Regions from separate parts of the Homo sapiens genome. Here regions 2 and 3 are each linked to region 1. Evidence: promoter capture Hi-C in human tissues and cell types (Jung and others, 2019). All regions are on one chromosome and are shown on one strand. Each heading gives the region's core, a stretch centred on a gene start or on the middle of the fragment in contact. The rest is flanking DNA. Distances are from core to core; before and after follow the strand shown. Region 1 holds the start of ZNF486 (zinc finger protein 486). Region 2 overlaps LOC124904664 (a long non-coding RNA gene). Region 3 overlaps ZNF253 (zinc finger protein 253).

What was found. Contacts are between HindIII fragments. The study calls those that stand out against the background at their distance.
Region 2: a fragment that was not itself captured here is called in contact with the fragment with the promoter of ZNF486 in region 1 in 1 of the 25 tissues and cell types used here (aorta).
Region 3: a fragment that was not itself captured here is called in contact with the fragment with the promoter of ZNF486 in region 1 in 1 of the 25 tissues and cell types used here (mesenchymal stem cells).

What each region holds. Positions count from the first base shown.
Region 1 is chr19:20,165,243-20,169,590 of GRCh38, forward strand. It overlaps ZNF486 (zinc finger protein 486), which reads left to right and starts at 1,972. Exons shown (of 4, transcript NM_052852.4): 1 at 1,972-2,118. The coding sequence starts at 2,089. The region is part of intron 5 of LOC105372310 (a long non-coding RNA gene); the gene reads right to left. RefSeq lists an enhancer at 2,554-3,495. The HindIII fragment of the contact is 10,632 bases long and covers 1-4,348 here.
Region 2 is chr19:19,858,359-19,862,706 of GRCh38, forward strand. It overlaps LOC124904664 (a long non-coding RNA gene), which reads right to left. Exons shown (of 4, transcript XR_007067169.1): 3 at 2,705-2,958; 4 at 462-961. Among named protein-coding and RNA genes, the nearest start is that of ZNF253, 5.3 kb to the right of the region's middle. RefSeq lists an enhancer at 2,531-3,081. The HindIII fragment of the contact is 6,030 bases long and covers 1-4,348 here.
Region 3 is chr19:19,891,785-19,896,132 of GRCh38, forward strand. It overlaps ZNF253 (zinc finger protein 253), which reads left to right. Exons shown (of 4, transcript NM_021047.3): 4 at 1-2,890. The coding sequence ends at 963. Among named protein-coding and RNA genes, the nearest start is that of ZNF93, 7.0 kb to the right of the region's middle. The HindIII fragment of the contact is 4,796 bases long and covers 44-4,348 here.

The sequences.
Region 1 (4,348 bases), core at 722-3,221:
AAAAAAAAATAGCCAGGCGTGGTGGTGCATGCCTGTAGTCCCAGCTACTAGGTAGTCTGAGACATGAGAATCACTTGAACCTGGGAGGCAGAATTTGCAGTGAGCTGCGATTGTGCCACTGCACTCCAGCCTGAGTGACAGAGAGAGAGACTGTTAAAAAAAAAAAATCCAAGTGTCAGAAGCCTCAAAGATCGAAACTAGACAAACTCATGAAGATGAGAAAGAATCAACAAAAAACAGCTGAAAGGCCAGAGTGCCTCTTCTCTTCCAAATGATCAAAATGTCTCTTCAGCAAGGTGCAGAACTGGACAGAAGATGAGATGCATGAATTGATAGAAGTAGGCTTCAGAAGATGGTTAATAACAAACTCTGCTGAGCTAAAGAAACATGTTCAAACCCAATTTGAAGAAGCTAAGAACCTCGATAAAAGGTTAGAGGAACTGTTAACTAGAATAACCAGTTTGGAGAGGAACATAAGAGGATGAGATGCATGAATTCACAGAAGTAGGCTTCAGAAGACGGTTAATAACAAACTCTGCTGAGCTAAAGAAACATGTTTGAACCCAATTTGAAGAAGCTAAGAACCTTGATAAAAGGTTAGAGGAACTGCTAACTAGAATAACCAGTTTGGAGAGGAACATAAGAGGATGAGATGCATGAATTCACAGAAGTAGGCCTCAGAAGATGGTTAATAACAAACTCTGCTGAGCTAAAGAAACATGTTCGAACCCAATTTGAAGAAGCTAAGAACCTTGATAAAAGGTTAGAGGAACTGCTAACTAGAATAAACAGTTTGGAGAGGAACATAAATGACCTGATGGAGCTGAAATGTTTGGCATGAGGCCCAGTCACTAGGGCCCTTTGCGACTGGGCTCAAGGAACACAAAAACGTTATCTTGTTTTTCAATAACTAACATATAGGAATAGATTGAAACAGAGATTTCTCTGAAATGACACTACATGAATGCCTCAATGAATGCCTCAAGGGGGTCACACAACCGGTTCTGAGACTTGGTGACCATTGTTTGTGTCTGTGTTCAATTTATTTCAAAATTAATATTTAACTTTTCCTCCACAAATTCCCCTGTCTTGATGAATGGGCTCTGTCTAGGCAAAAGGCCTGTCTTTATGAATCAGCTCTGTCTAGACAAAAGGCAAGGTAAAACCCTTGGGCTGTTACACAACCTCCGCCTCCTGGGTTCAAGCGATTCTCTTGCCTCAGCCTCCGGAGTAGCTGGGACTACAAGTGCACACCAGCACACCCAGATAATTTTTTGTATTTTTAGTAGAAATGGGGTTTCACCATGTTGGCCAGGCTGGTCTTGAACTCCTGACTCAAGTTATCCGCCCACCTTGGCCTCCCAAAGTGCTGGAATTAGAGGCGTGAGCCACTGCGCCTGGTTCTAAATGATTTCTATTTCCTGTAACAATTTGAAATTACTTAAAGGTTGTTTCAAATTGAAAAAAAGAATGTAGATAAAATATAAAAAGTTAAAAAAATTACAAGTGATTATGAAATATATGTGTAAATCTCGAGAGGTCAAAAGTGACAAATCTGATTTATATATAAGGTTTTATTAAAATTAGCTTTAGTATTGATAATACACTATTACCAAAGTAAAAGTTGATTTTCTAACAAAAATTTTATGTATTATTAATATGACAGCAAAATACTTCTGTTCACCTTTTGAATACATGCAAAAAGAGAGAGAGTAAAAAAGAGATAGAATTTTCCCTTGCTCTAGGGTGGGCCTGGCTCAGCTCAGGGAGGAAGCCCTGCCTGAAAAGGCTGCAGCTTAGGCTGTTACTCTTTCATCACTCAGCCCAGCATCTGATCACATCCTCTGTCACTCAGGGACTGAGTGGGCGGGGCCTTAAGCATTATCCAATCAGAGACGCTGGGCTGGAAACCGTCCAATCAGGCAGGCAGCTGGAGCAAAGAGGACGGCTTCCGGGTTTGGCGCGGCCTTTGTCTCTCGCTGCATCTGGAGCTCTAGGTCGCCTCTTCGCTACTCTGTGTCCTCTGCTCCTAGAGGCCCACCCTCTGTGGCCCTGTGTCCTGTAGGTATTGGGAGATCCACAGCCAAGATGCCGGGACCCCTTAGAAGCCTAGAAATGGTGAGAGTGCCCATTGGACATCCTGAGAGAGGGGAGGGACTGGTTGATGGGAAGTGGCTGTGGAGGGACTCAGGCCTCCCCGTAGTCAGCTCCACAATCTGCGTCCGGACTTCTCCTTACCCAGCTCGGCCTCAGTCCCCTTCAGCCATAAGATGGTGGCTGCGCTGACAGCCGGTCCCGGGGCGTCCTGTCTCTTCCCTGCGCAGTGACCGTGCCCTGGCCTGGCGCCCTCTCTGTGCAGCAGCTCTCCACCCGCAGCTTCGGGTCTCTCCCAGATGGTGCGGGAACCACGAGAAGGTCATCAGGGGAGAATCTTGACTCGGGGTGCGGGTTCACGATTCGGAAGAGCTTTGGTCCGTGGGGTTCACAGTTTCTCTTTTCTTTTGTTAAAAATTTATGGGGCCGGGCGCGGTGGTTGACGTCTGTAATCCCAGCATTTTGGGAGGCGAAGGCTGGCGGATCACTTGAGGTAAAGGGTTGCTAGGACAACTAAATTCCTCTTCAAAGACTCAACTTCCTGATCAGAAGTTGTAAAAGTTGTAAAACAACCCTACCCCTTTTTCTCCCTTTTCCTTTTCTCGCAAATCGCTCGTTTATCCTATTTGGAAAAAGTTTGGGTCTAAGCCAACCGGGATCAGCTTAGATTGTGCGGTCTGACCCCAGCCAATAGGGGAAGGACACAAAAACAAAAACTACGTTGGGGTTAAAAACCCATTCCTGGTCGGGCGCGGTGGCTCACGCCTGTAATCCCAGCATTTTGAGAGACCTAGGCGGGAGGATCTTGTGGTCAGGAGTTCTAGACCATCCTGGCCAACACCGTGAACCCCGTCTCTACTAAAAATACAAAAATTAGCCAGGTGTGGTGGCAGGCACCTGTAATCCCAGCTACTTGGGAGGCTGAGGCACGAGAATTGGTTGAACCCAGGAGGCGGAGGTTGCAGTGAGCTGAGACCGCGCCATCGTACTTAAGTGTGCGTGACAGAGCAAGACTCCTTCACACACACAAAAGAAGGGCCAGGCGCAGTGGCTCACGCCTGTAATCCCAGCACTTTGGGAGGCCAAGGCAGGCGGATCACCTGAGTTCGGGAGTTCGAGACCGGCCTGACTAACATGGAGAAACCCTGTCTCTATTAAAAATACAAAATTAGCTGGGCTTGGTGGCGCATGCCTGTAATCCCAGCTACTCGGGAGGCTGAGGCAGGAGAGTTGCTTGAACCCGGGAGGAGGAGGTTGCGGTGAGCCGAGATCGTGCCATTGCACTCCAGCCTGGGCAACAACAGCGAAACTCCGTCTCAAAAAAAAAAAAAAGTAAGAATCTTAAAATTTTCTTCCTTTATGTAAACACTGTTTGAGTAATTTCACTGGATTTTTCAAACACTTAGTTTCAAAAACCAAGTGAATAACACTGACATGGAAATTAAAGCTTGAACCTAGTAATTCCAAGCTAAGGCTAATATGAAGTCTGCAAAAGGAGGGGGTTAAAAAAAATTTTTTTTTTTTGAGACAGTCTTGCTTTGTGGCCCAGGCTGGAGTGCAGTGGCGCGATCTCGGCTCACTGCAACCTCCGCCTCCGGGGTTCAAGCAGTTCTCCTGCCTCAGCCTCCCAAGTAGCTGGGACTACAGGCACTCGCCACCACGCCCGGCTAATTTTTGTATTTTTAGCAGAGACGGGGTTTCACCATATTGGCCAGGCTGGTGTCGAACTCCTGACCTTGTGATCCGCCTACCTCAGCCTCCCGAAGTGGTGGGGTTACTACATTTTTTTTATTTTGACATGGAGTTTAGCTCTTATTACCCAGTCTGGAGTGCAATGGTATGATCTCGGCTCACCGCATCCTCTACCTCCTGGGTTCAAGGGATTTTCCTACCTCAGCCTCTGGAGTTACTGGGATTGCAGGCACGCGCCGTCACGCCCGGCTAATTATGTGTGTTTACTAGGGGTTTCTCCATGTTGGTCAGGCTGGTCTCTAACTCCCAACCTCAGGTGATCCATCCGCCTTGGCCTCCCAAAGTGCTGGGATTACATGCTTGCGCCACCGCGCCCGGCCAACAGGAGGTTATTAAAGGCCTAGTTAGTTTTTTCTGGGGAGCCTCGCCTGCAGATGTCCCAGCCTGCTCACCCCACCCATGGAAGGAGCCTTTATCCTGAGAGAAGCTACGGAGCCCTGGAAAGCTGGAGCCCCACAGGTAGTTAAGATTAAGGTGAAAGGAAACTGGGAGGGTCTTACTG
Region 2 (4,348 bases), core at 583-3,082, 310 kb before region 1:
TCGCTTGAAGCCAGGAGGCAGAGGTTGCTGTGAGCCAAGATCAAGCCACTGCACTCCAGCCTGGCTGAAAAAGCAAGACTCCGTCTCAAAAAAAAAAAAAAAGAAAAAGAAAAAAAATTGCAACTATACTTCAGTTAAAACACTTTATATTTCAAAAGTATAAATAAAATAACCATTTAAGCGATTAATTCAAAGTAAGTATTGTGGCTTAATATTCATAGGATTGTAGAATACAGTGTTTATGGCTCATGCCTGTAATCCCAGTACTTTGGAAGAGTGAGGCAGGTGGATCACCTGAGGTCAAGATCAAGCTGGCCAACATGGTGAGACCCCATCTCTACTAAAAATACAAAAACCTACCCAGGCTTGGTGTTGCATGCTTGTAATCCCAGCTGCACGGGAGGCTGAGGCAGGAGAATCACTTGAACCCAGGAGGTAGAGGTTGCAGTGAGCTGAGATCAAGCCACTGCATTCCAGCCTATGCAACAGAGGGAGACTGTCTAAAAAAAAACTGAGGTCAAAATAAGTAAACAAATCTTTTCAAGGTACAGATCCAATCACCCACCCCATCCTGTTCACTTACATGCGCAATAACCACCCTCCCAGGAGACACTGCACTATGCCCCAGTGAGTGCCCCAGGTGCATTTTACTTTGTAAGTTATTTATGCCATCTCACTGGGGTCAGTTTTTTGTCTTTTGGAGTGTTTTTTCACTATTTTTCTGCCCCTCCCACAAGATAATCCAGAAGACAGAAATTATTTGTTTTCCCCTCAATACCAGCATCTGATTGACTGACCAGCAATGTGTCTCCTAGAAATGAAAGCCAGGTTGAGTGAAGACAATCTTCATGTCTCAAGGGGTTAGCTTTTCAAAAAAAAAAAAGTGCACCAGAAGATGCCTTTCAGCCCCAAGGCTGCCACCTGCTCCCTTGAAAGTCTACACTCCATGCTTCAGGTGGTCCTATGGGAGAAAATGACCCAAGAGATAATAGTCACTAGACACTCTAGCAGACATAGCCATAGTGGGTATGTTGGTTTATTCCCAGAAAGTACTAAAACCCAGGACCAGAAAAAAACTGAAGGTTGGCTGAGGACACATCATCCTACAAAGTTTCCAAAGGGTAATCTTGACCCAAAAACATTCCGGTAAGTTCTCTGGAAAAATAAAAGAAAAAGAGGCGCCAGACACGGTGGCTCACACCTGTAATCCCAGCACTTTGGAACGCAGAGGCGGGCGGATCACGAGGTCAAGAGATCCAGGCCATCCTGGCCAACATGGTGAAACCTCTCTAGCTGGGCATGGTGGCACATGACTGTAGTTCCAGCTACTCAGGAGGCTGAGGCAGGATAATTGCTTGAACCCGGGAGGTGGAGGTTGCAGTGAGCCCAGATCGCGCGGCTGCACAACTGTAGGACCTCACTCCAGTCTGGCAACAGAGCGAAAACTCTGTCTCAAAAAGCAAAACAAAAAAAAGAAAAAAGAAAAAGACACAAATATTTTTTACAATACAGTGTCAGGGGATTATTCTTTGCTTTCTTCTCCTGGGAAATATTTACAAACAGAAAACAAATATTTTCAATAGTGTTATGCCATGCTTTTTAAAGAATGATTAATTGAGGAACATGGGGTACACTTGAGGCCCTGCTTGGGACACATGTGAAAAATGCCAGGGAAAAATCAGTTCCCTGTGAGGTGTGAAAATAATTAATTGCACTTTTTGTTAAATTACTATATTAAGGGAAATAAAATTCAAGCTTACACAACTATAAACTGCCAATTAAGCTCTGAATCATAACTAGGACATTTCCACCTCGATTGTACAAAATAAGAAACTACGTAACTATACCTAACCAACGATTGAATATGGTTTTCTTCATCATGCACCTTATAAATGTCTTTCCTTCAAGCCCCTACCATGGACCATAAAGTACAAACTATAGCTGGGTGCTCAACAATTCTTGAATCACTCTTTAATTAAATTATTTGATATTTTTGCGGCGACTCTCATATTTTTTTTTTTTAGACAGAGTTTTGCTCTGTCGCCCAGGCTGGAGTGCAGTGGTAAGATATCAGCCCCTGCAACCTCTGCCTCTTGGGTTCAAGCGATTCTGTCACCTCTGCCTTCCAAGTAGCTGGGATTACAGACATTCGCCATCACACCCAGCTAATTTTTGTATTTTTAGTAGAGATGGGGTTTCCTCATTTTGACCAGGCTCGTCTTCAACTCCTGACCTCAAGTGATCCGCCCGCCTCGGCCTCCCAAAGTGCTAGGATTCCAGGCGTGAGCCACCGCGCAAGGGCCCATACATTTTTAATAGGAGAAAAGGGAAACTGTGAAGACCAAGCACCAAAGCTCTTCCCATTCATGAACTTGCATCCTGAGTCAGGATTCTCCCCTGAGGACCCTCCCGTGGTCCCTGCACGATCTGGGAGACACGTGGCGCTGTGGGTGCAGAGCTGCCCGGAGAGGGCTCCAGGCCAGGGCACAGTCACTGCGAGGGGAAGAGACAGGACGCCGGGGGGCCCGGGTGTGAGCGCAGCCTCCATCTTACGGCTGAAAGGGACTGAGGCCGAGCTGGGCAAGGAGAACTTGGGGCGCAGATTGCGGAGCTGACTGCGGGGAGGCCTGAGTCCCGCCACAGCCACTTCCCACCGGTTCCAACCAGTTCCTCCCCTGCTCTCGTGATGTCCGACGGCACTCACCATTTCTAGGCTTCCAGGAGGTCCTGGCGTCTTAGCTGTGGATCTCCCAAAACCGTCAGGTCACAGGGCTGGGCCTCCAGCAGCAGAGGACACAGAGTAGTGAAGATGAGACCTGGAGCTCCAGGTGCAGTGAGAGACAAAGGCCCCGCCAAACTCGGAAGTCGACCTGTTCGCTCCAGCTGGGTGTCTGATTGGACGGTTTCCAGCCCAGTGTCCCTGATTGGATAATGCTTAAGGCCTCGCCCCTTCAGGACCTAGTGAGAGAAGATGTGATAAGATGCTGCGCTGAGCAATGAAAGAGTCACAGCCTAAGCTGCATCTTTTTCAGGCAGGGCTTTCTCCCAGAGCTGAGCCAGGCCCACCCCAGAGCATGGGAAAATTCTATCTCTTTTTTGCTCTCTCTTTTTGAATGTATTCGAAAGGTGAACGGAAGTACTTTGCTGTTATATTAATAATACGTAAAATTTTTGTTCAAGAGAAAATCAACTTTTACTTTGGTAATAGTGTATTATCAATACTAAAGCTAATTTTAATAAAACCTTATAAACAAATCAAATTTGTCATTTTTGACCTTTCGAGATTTGCATATATATTTTGTAATCTCTTGTAATTTTTAAACTATTTATATTTTACTTATATCTACATTCCTTTTATTTTTTCAATTTGAAACAACCTTTAAGTAATTTCAAACTGCTATAGGAGATAGAAAGCATTTAGGGACAGGGACTGTGGCTCACGCCTCTAATCCCAGCACTTTGAGAGGCCAAGGTGGGCAGACTACTTGAGGTCAGGAGTTAAAGACCAGCCTGGCCAATATGGTGAAACCCCATCTCTACTAAAAATACAAAAATTTAGCCGGGCATGCTGGTGCACACCTGTGGTCCCAGCTACTACAGAGGCCGAGGCAGAAGAATCGCTTGAACCCAGGAGGCAGAGGTTGTGTAAGGCCCAAGGGGTTCACCTTGCCCTTTGCCTAGACAGAGCTGATTCATCAAGACAGGGGAATTTGTGGAGGAAAAGTTAAATATTAAATTTGAACTCAATTGAACGTGGACACAAACAATGATCACCAAGTCCAGGAAGAGGTTGTGTGAGACCTTTGATGCATTCATCCAGTGCTGTTTTGGAGAAATCTCTATTTCCATCTATTCCTATACTTTACTTATTGAAAAACGATAGACAATCACAAAAACAAGTTGACCTTTTTGTGTTCCTTGAGCCCAGTCACTAAGGGCCCTCGTGACTGGGCTTTATGCCAAATAAAAGAGCTGGGATCCCAGATGGCGCCGAAGTTTCATGAGACCTCTCCTCGTCTGTGCGTGGACGAGTGGCCGACTCTGAAGCCCAGGCTGTGGCTTCCTGGTCTGGTGGTGAATCCTCCACAGTCTGGGGAGTGTGGTGTCTGACTCTGGATCCCAGGGCTGGAAACTCAAGGACTTCCTATATCCCAGTTCTCCCCCTTGTCATGCCCCATCTGGTGAGTTTTGGGGGAACTCATGACCCAAGTCATAATAGGAATTTCAGGCCTCATAAAGACATCATGGTTGAAGCAGAGGTGTTCTGTTTCCAGCAAAGCCCTATAGGAAGCTAACAATTGCTTCTAGAAAGAGGTATAAGCTTTGCCGGCCTATGACAGTTTCTGGG
Region 3 (4,348 bases), core at 1,192-3,691, 270 kb before region 1:
GCTTTTAAACGGTCCTCAACCCTTACTACACATAAGAAAATTCATACTGGAGAGAAACCTTACAGATGTGAAGAATGTGGCAAAGCTTTTAACCAATCTGCAAACCTTACTACACATAAGAGAATTCATACCGGAGAGAAACCCTACAGATGTGAAGAATGTGGCAAAGCCTTTAAGCAGTCCTCAAACCTTACTACACATAAGAAAATTCATACTGGAGAGAAACCCTACAAATGTGAAGAATGTGGCAAAGCCTTCAACCGATCCACAGACCTTACTACACATAAGATAGTTCATACTGGAGAGAAACCCTACAAATGTGAAGAATGTGGCAAAGCCTTTAAGCACCCCTCACACGTTACCACACATAAGAAAATTCATACTAGAGGGAAACCCTACAACTGTGAAGAATGTGGCAAATCCTTTAAGCACTGCTCTAACCTTACTATACATAAGAGAATTCATACAGGAGAGAAACCCTACAAATGTGAAGAATGTGGCAAAGCCTTTCACCTATCCTCACACCTTACTACACATAAGATACTTCATACTGGAGAGAAACCCTACAGATGTAGAGAATGTGGCAAAGCTTTTAACCATTCCACAACCCTTTTTTCACATGAGAAAATTCATACTGGAGAGAAACCCTACAAATGTGATGAATGTGGCAAAACCTTTACCTGGCCCTCAATCCTCTCCAAACATAAAAGAACTCATACTGGAGAGAAACCCTACAAATGTGAAGAATGTGGCAAATCCTTTACTGCATCCTCAACTCTAACTACACATAAGAGAATTCATACTGGAGAGAAACCTTACAAATGTGAAGAATGTGGCAAAGCTTTTAACTGGTCCTCAGACCTTAATAAACATAAGAAAATTCATATTGAACGAAAACCCTACATAGTGAAGAATGTGACAGATCTTTTAAATGTTCCTCCACTTTTAATTAGCATAAGATAATTCATACTGGAGAGAAACCCTATGAATGTGATGAATGTGGGAAAGCCTTTAACCAGCCCTCGACTCTTAGTAAATTTGAGAGTTTATATGGAACACAAACCCTACAAATATAAAGAATGTGACAAAGCTTTTTAAGGAAGTTCTCAACCCTTATTACACATAATTCATACCAAACAGAAGCCCTACAAGTGTGAAGAATGTGGCAAAACCTATAAACCTATAACAAGTTCTCAATTCCTTTTTTTTTGAGATGGAGTTTCACTCTTGTCACCGAGGCTGGAGTGCAATGACATGATCTCCGTTCACTGCAATCTCTGCCTCCTGGGTTTAAGCCATTCTTCTGCCTCAGCCTCCCAAGTAGCTGGGATTACAGGTGCCCAACACCACGCCTGGCTAATTTTTGGATTTTTAGTAGAGATGGGGTTTCACAATGTTGGCCAGGCTGGTCTCGAACTCCTGACCTCAGGTGATCCACCTGCCTTGGCCTTCCAAAGTGCTGGGGTTACAGGCGTGAGCCACCATGCCTGGCTACAAGTTCTTAATTCTTAAGAGACACCATGCCTGGCTACAAGTTCTTAATTCTTAAGAGACATGGCGATAATTCATGCTGAAGAGGAAATCTGGAAACCTGAAAGATGCGACATTGCTTTTACCAACACCTCCACATTTCCTATACATAAAAATAAATTATACTAGTGTAATACCCTAGAAATGTATAAAATGTGACAAAGCCTTTATATGATTGTCATACATGATTGTAGGTGATAGAAGTCATACTGCCAAAACTCCTGTAAGTGTGAAGAATGTGGCAAAATATTTTATTAGTGCTTATACCTTATTTCACAGGAAAGCTCTTATCCTTGAGAAAAATTGTGCAAATACAAAGAATATGGAAAAACCATTAATGCCTACTCACATCTTACTGAACAGAAGAAGGTTCATAGTTAATAAAGCATTAAAAGTGCAATTACTGTCAAAAAATCTTTCAGAAAATAGAAGTCTTTAAAGTGAAGAATATTTATTCTGAAGACAGCCATTACAAATATAAAGGGGGTTGTAGTGCCTTTACTTGTGTCACAGATCTTAGTGCACACATGTAGTACTAGAGGAAAACCCTGAAGCAGTTGCTCAAGCTTTGTTTCAGGGAATCAAGGGAATTTATATTGAGAATAGTACTGCAAATGTAATGAATGGAAAGACTTTTCTTTTCCAAAAATGACAGCTTAGAAAACACCAGAGGGTTTATACCAAAATATATTTTTGCAGATGCAGTAAATATCAAAAAATATTTAATTCAAAATTGATTCTATGTAAATATCAGAGAATTTTCCATAGAATAATTAAGGCACTGACACTTCAGACATTACACTAAATCAGAATGTTCAGTATAAAAACTAATCCACAGCTACAGCTGTTAGATAAATTATTTCTATATAATTTTTTAAAAAGTGGATTTTTGAAGCACTGTAATTACATTGAAAGTATACTTGTTTTCTTGAAAAAATTTTTTTGAAAAGTGAATAATGATATAATACAGCTTTCACATTGCTTTATGCTATTTTATTCCTATTATATTCACATGTGAAAGCATGTGATCAATTGTTGCTGCATTAGAGATATTAGAGATTGTTTTTTATTAGTTGGGCATTATGTATGACCTTTTCTATAAAAGAGTAAGGACATTAAAATGTAAGATGCATGATGAAAATATAAGTGGAGAGGCTCTTTGTAGTTAACTGATATTAAGTAATGTGTAAGGTGGGGGTTCATGTTCTCATTTCTATAATCCTAGCCAATGACTTAATGTTGATGCTTTGAATGTCTTTTGGATGGTCTAACCTACATTAACATGTATGCGGAACATCTTAAAACTTTTTTTCAAAAATCATAATGAATTATTTTATTAATAAGCAAAGATAAAAAATAAGGTGGGGTTTCAGAGTAATGCTTTTCTACATTATAGTGACAGAAAGAAATTATTAATTATAGTTAAAAATATTAAAATACAGCCAGGTATATTTATTGGTTTAGACAGGTTTTAATATAATATTTATGGTTCTTTAAATATAAAGTTGTATGGGATGGGTGCAGTGGCTCATGCCTGTAATCCTAGCACTTTGGGAGGCTGAGGCAGATGGATCACTTGAGGTCAGGAGATCGAGACCAGCCTGACCAACACTGAGAAACCCCACCTCTACTAAAAATACAAAAATTAGCTGGGCATGATGGCACATGCCTGTAATCCCAGCTATTCAGGAGGCTGAGGCAAGAGAATTGCTTGAACGTGGGAGTTCTCAGATTACAGGTGTGCGCCACCATGCCTGGTTAATTTTTGTATTTTTAGTAGAGACGGGGTTTCACCATGTTGGCCAGGCTGGTCCCATACTCCTGACCTGAAGTGATTCGCCCACCTCGGCCTCCCAAAGTGCTGGGATTACAGGCATAAGCCACCGCACCCTGCCTATTTTTTTCTTACTGAAATTTATTATTAGTATTTGTGGGTATATTGTATGTGTATATATTTATGCCTTATATGGTATATTTTGATTCAGGCATACAATATGTAGAAATTTCATTAGGGTAAATAAGATATCCGTCACCTCTAGCGTTTATCATTTGTATTACAAACAGTGTAATTATACACTTTTAGTGCATAATTTAATGAAGCAGGTGGATTGCCTGAGGTCAGGAGTTCAAGATCAGCCTGGCCAATATGGTGAAACCCCGTCTCTACTAAAAATACAAAAATTAGCTGGACGTGGTCGTGCATGCCTGGAGGCTGAGGCAGGAGAATTGCTTGAACCCTGGAGGGACAGTTTTTTAAATAAGATTAAGGACTGAGGACTGGTTGGGGCTCATAAATGATATGAGTAAAGTGTTAGCTAAAACAGAAGAAAAAGGGGTGCCCAAACAAGTCACCTTAAAATTTGATGCCTGTGCTGTCATTAATAGTAATAAGTTAGGAATAAGGTGTGGTTCTCTTAATTAGAAAAGAGGCTATATGGCAGAAAATAAATACAACTGTCATAAATTAGCACTGTGTGGAAATAAATGTGAACACTGGTCTTGTGTCATTTAGGCCACTTGGATTAAAAAAAAAAATGAAAAAGATCCATCCCACCTTCAGAAAGGAAAAAATGGCCCTTCCTGTACTCAGGGACAATGTAACCCCTTAGAGCTAGTCATAACCAATCCCCTTGATCCTCGCTAGAAAAAAAGAGGAGCATGTGACCTTAGGAATCGACGGGGCCAGACTGGATCCTTGAGTAAATATCTTGGTTCGAGAAGCTTACAAAGACTCTCCTGAGCCAGTGTTTCAAACTTTCTATGATGAACTAAATGTGCCAGTACCAGAAATTCCAGGAAAAACAAGAAATTTGTTTTT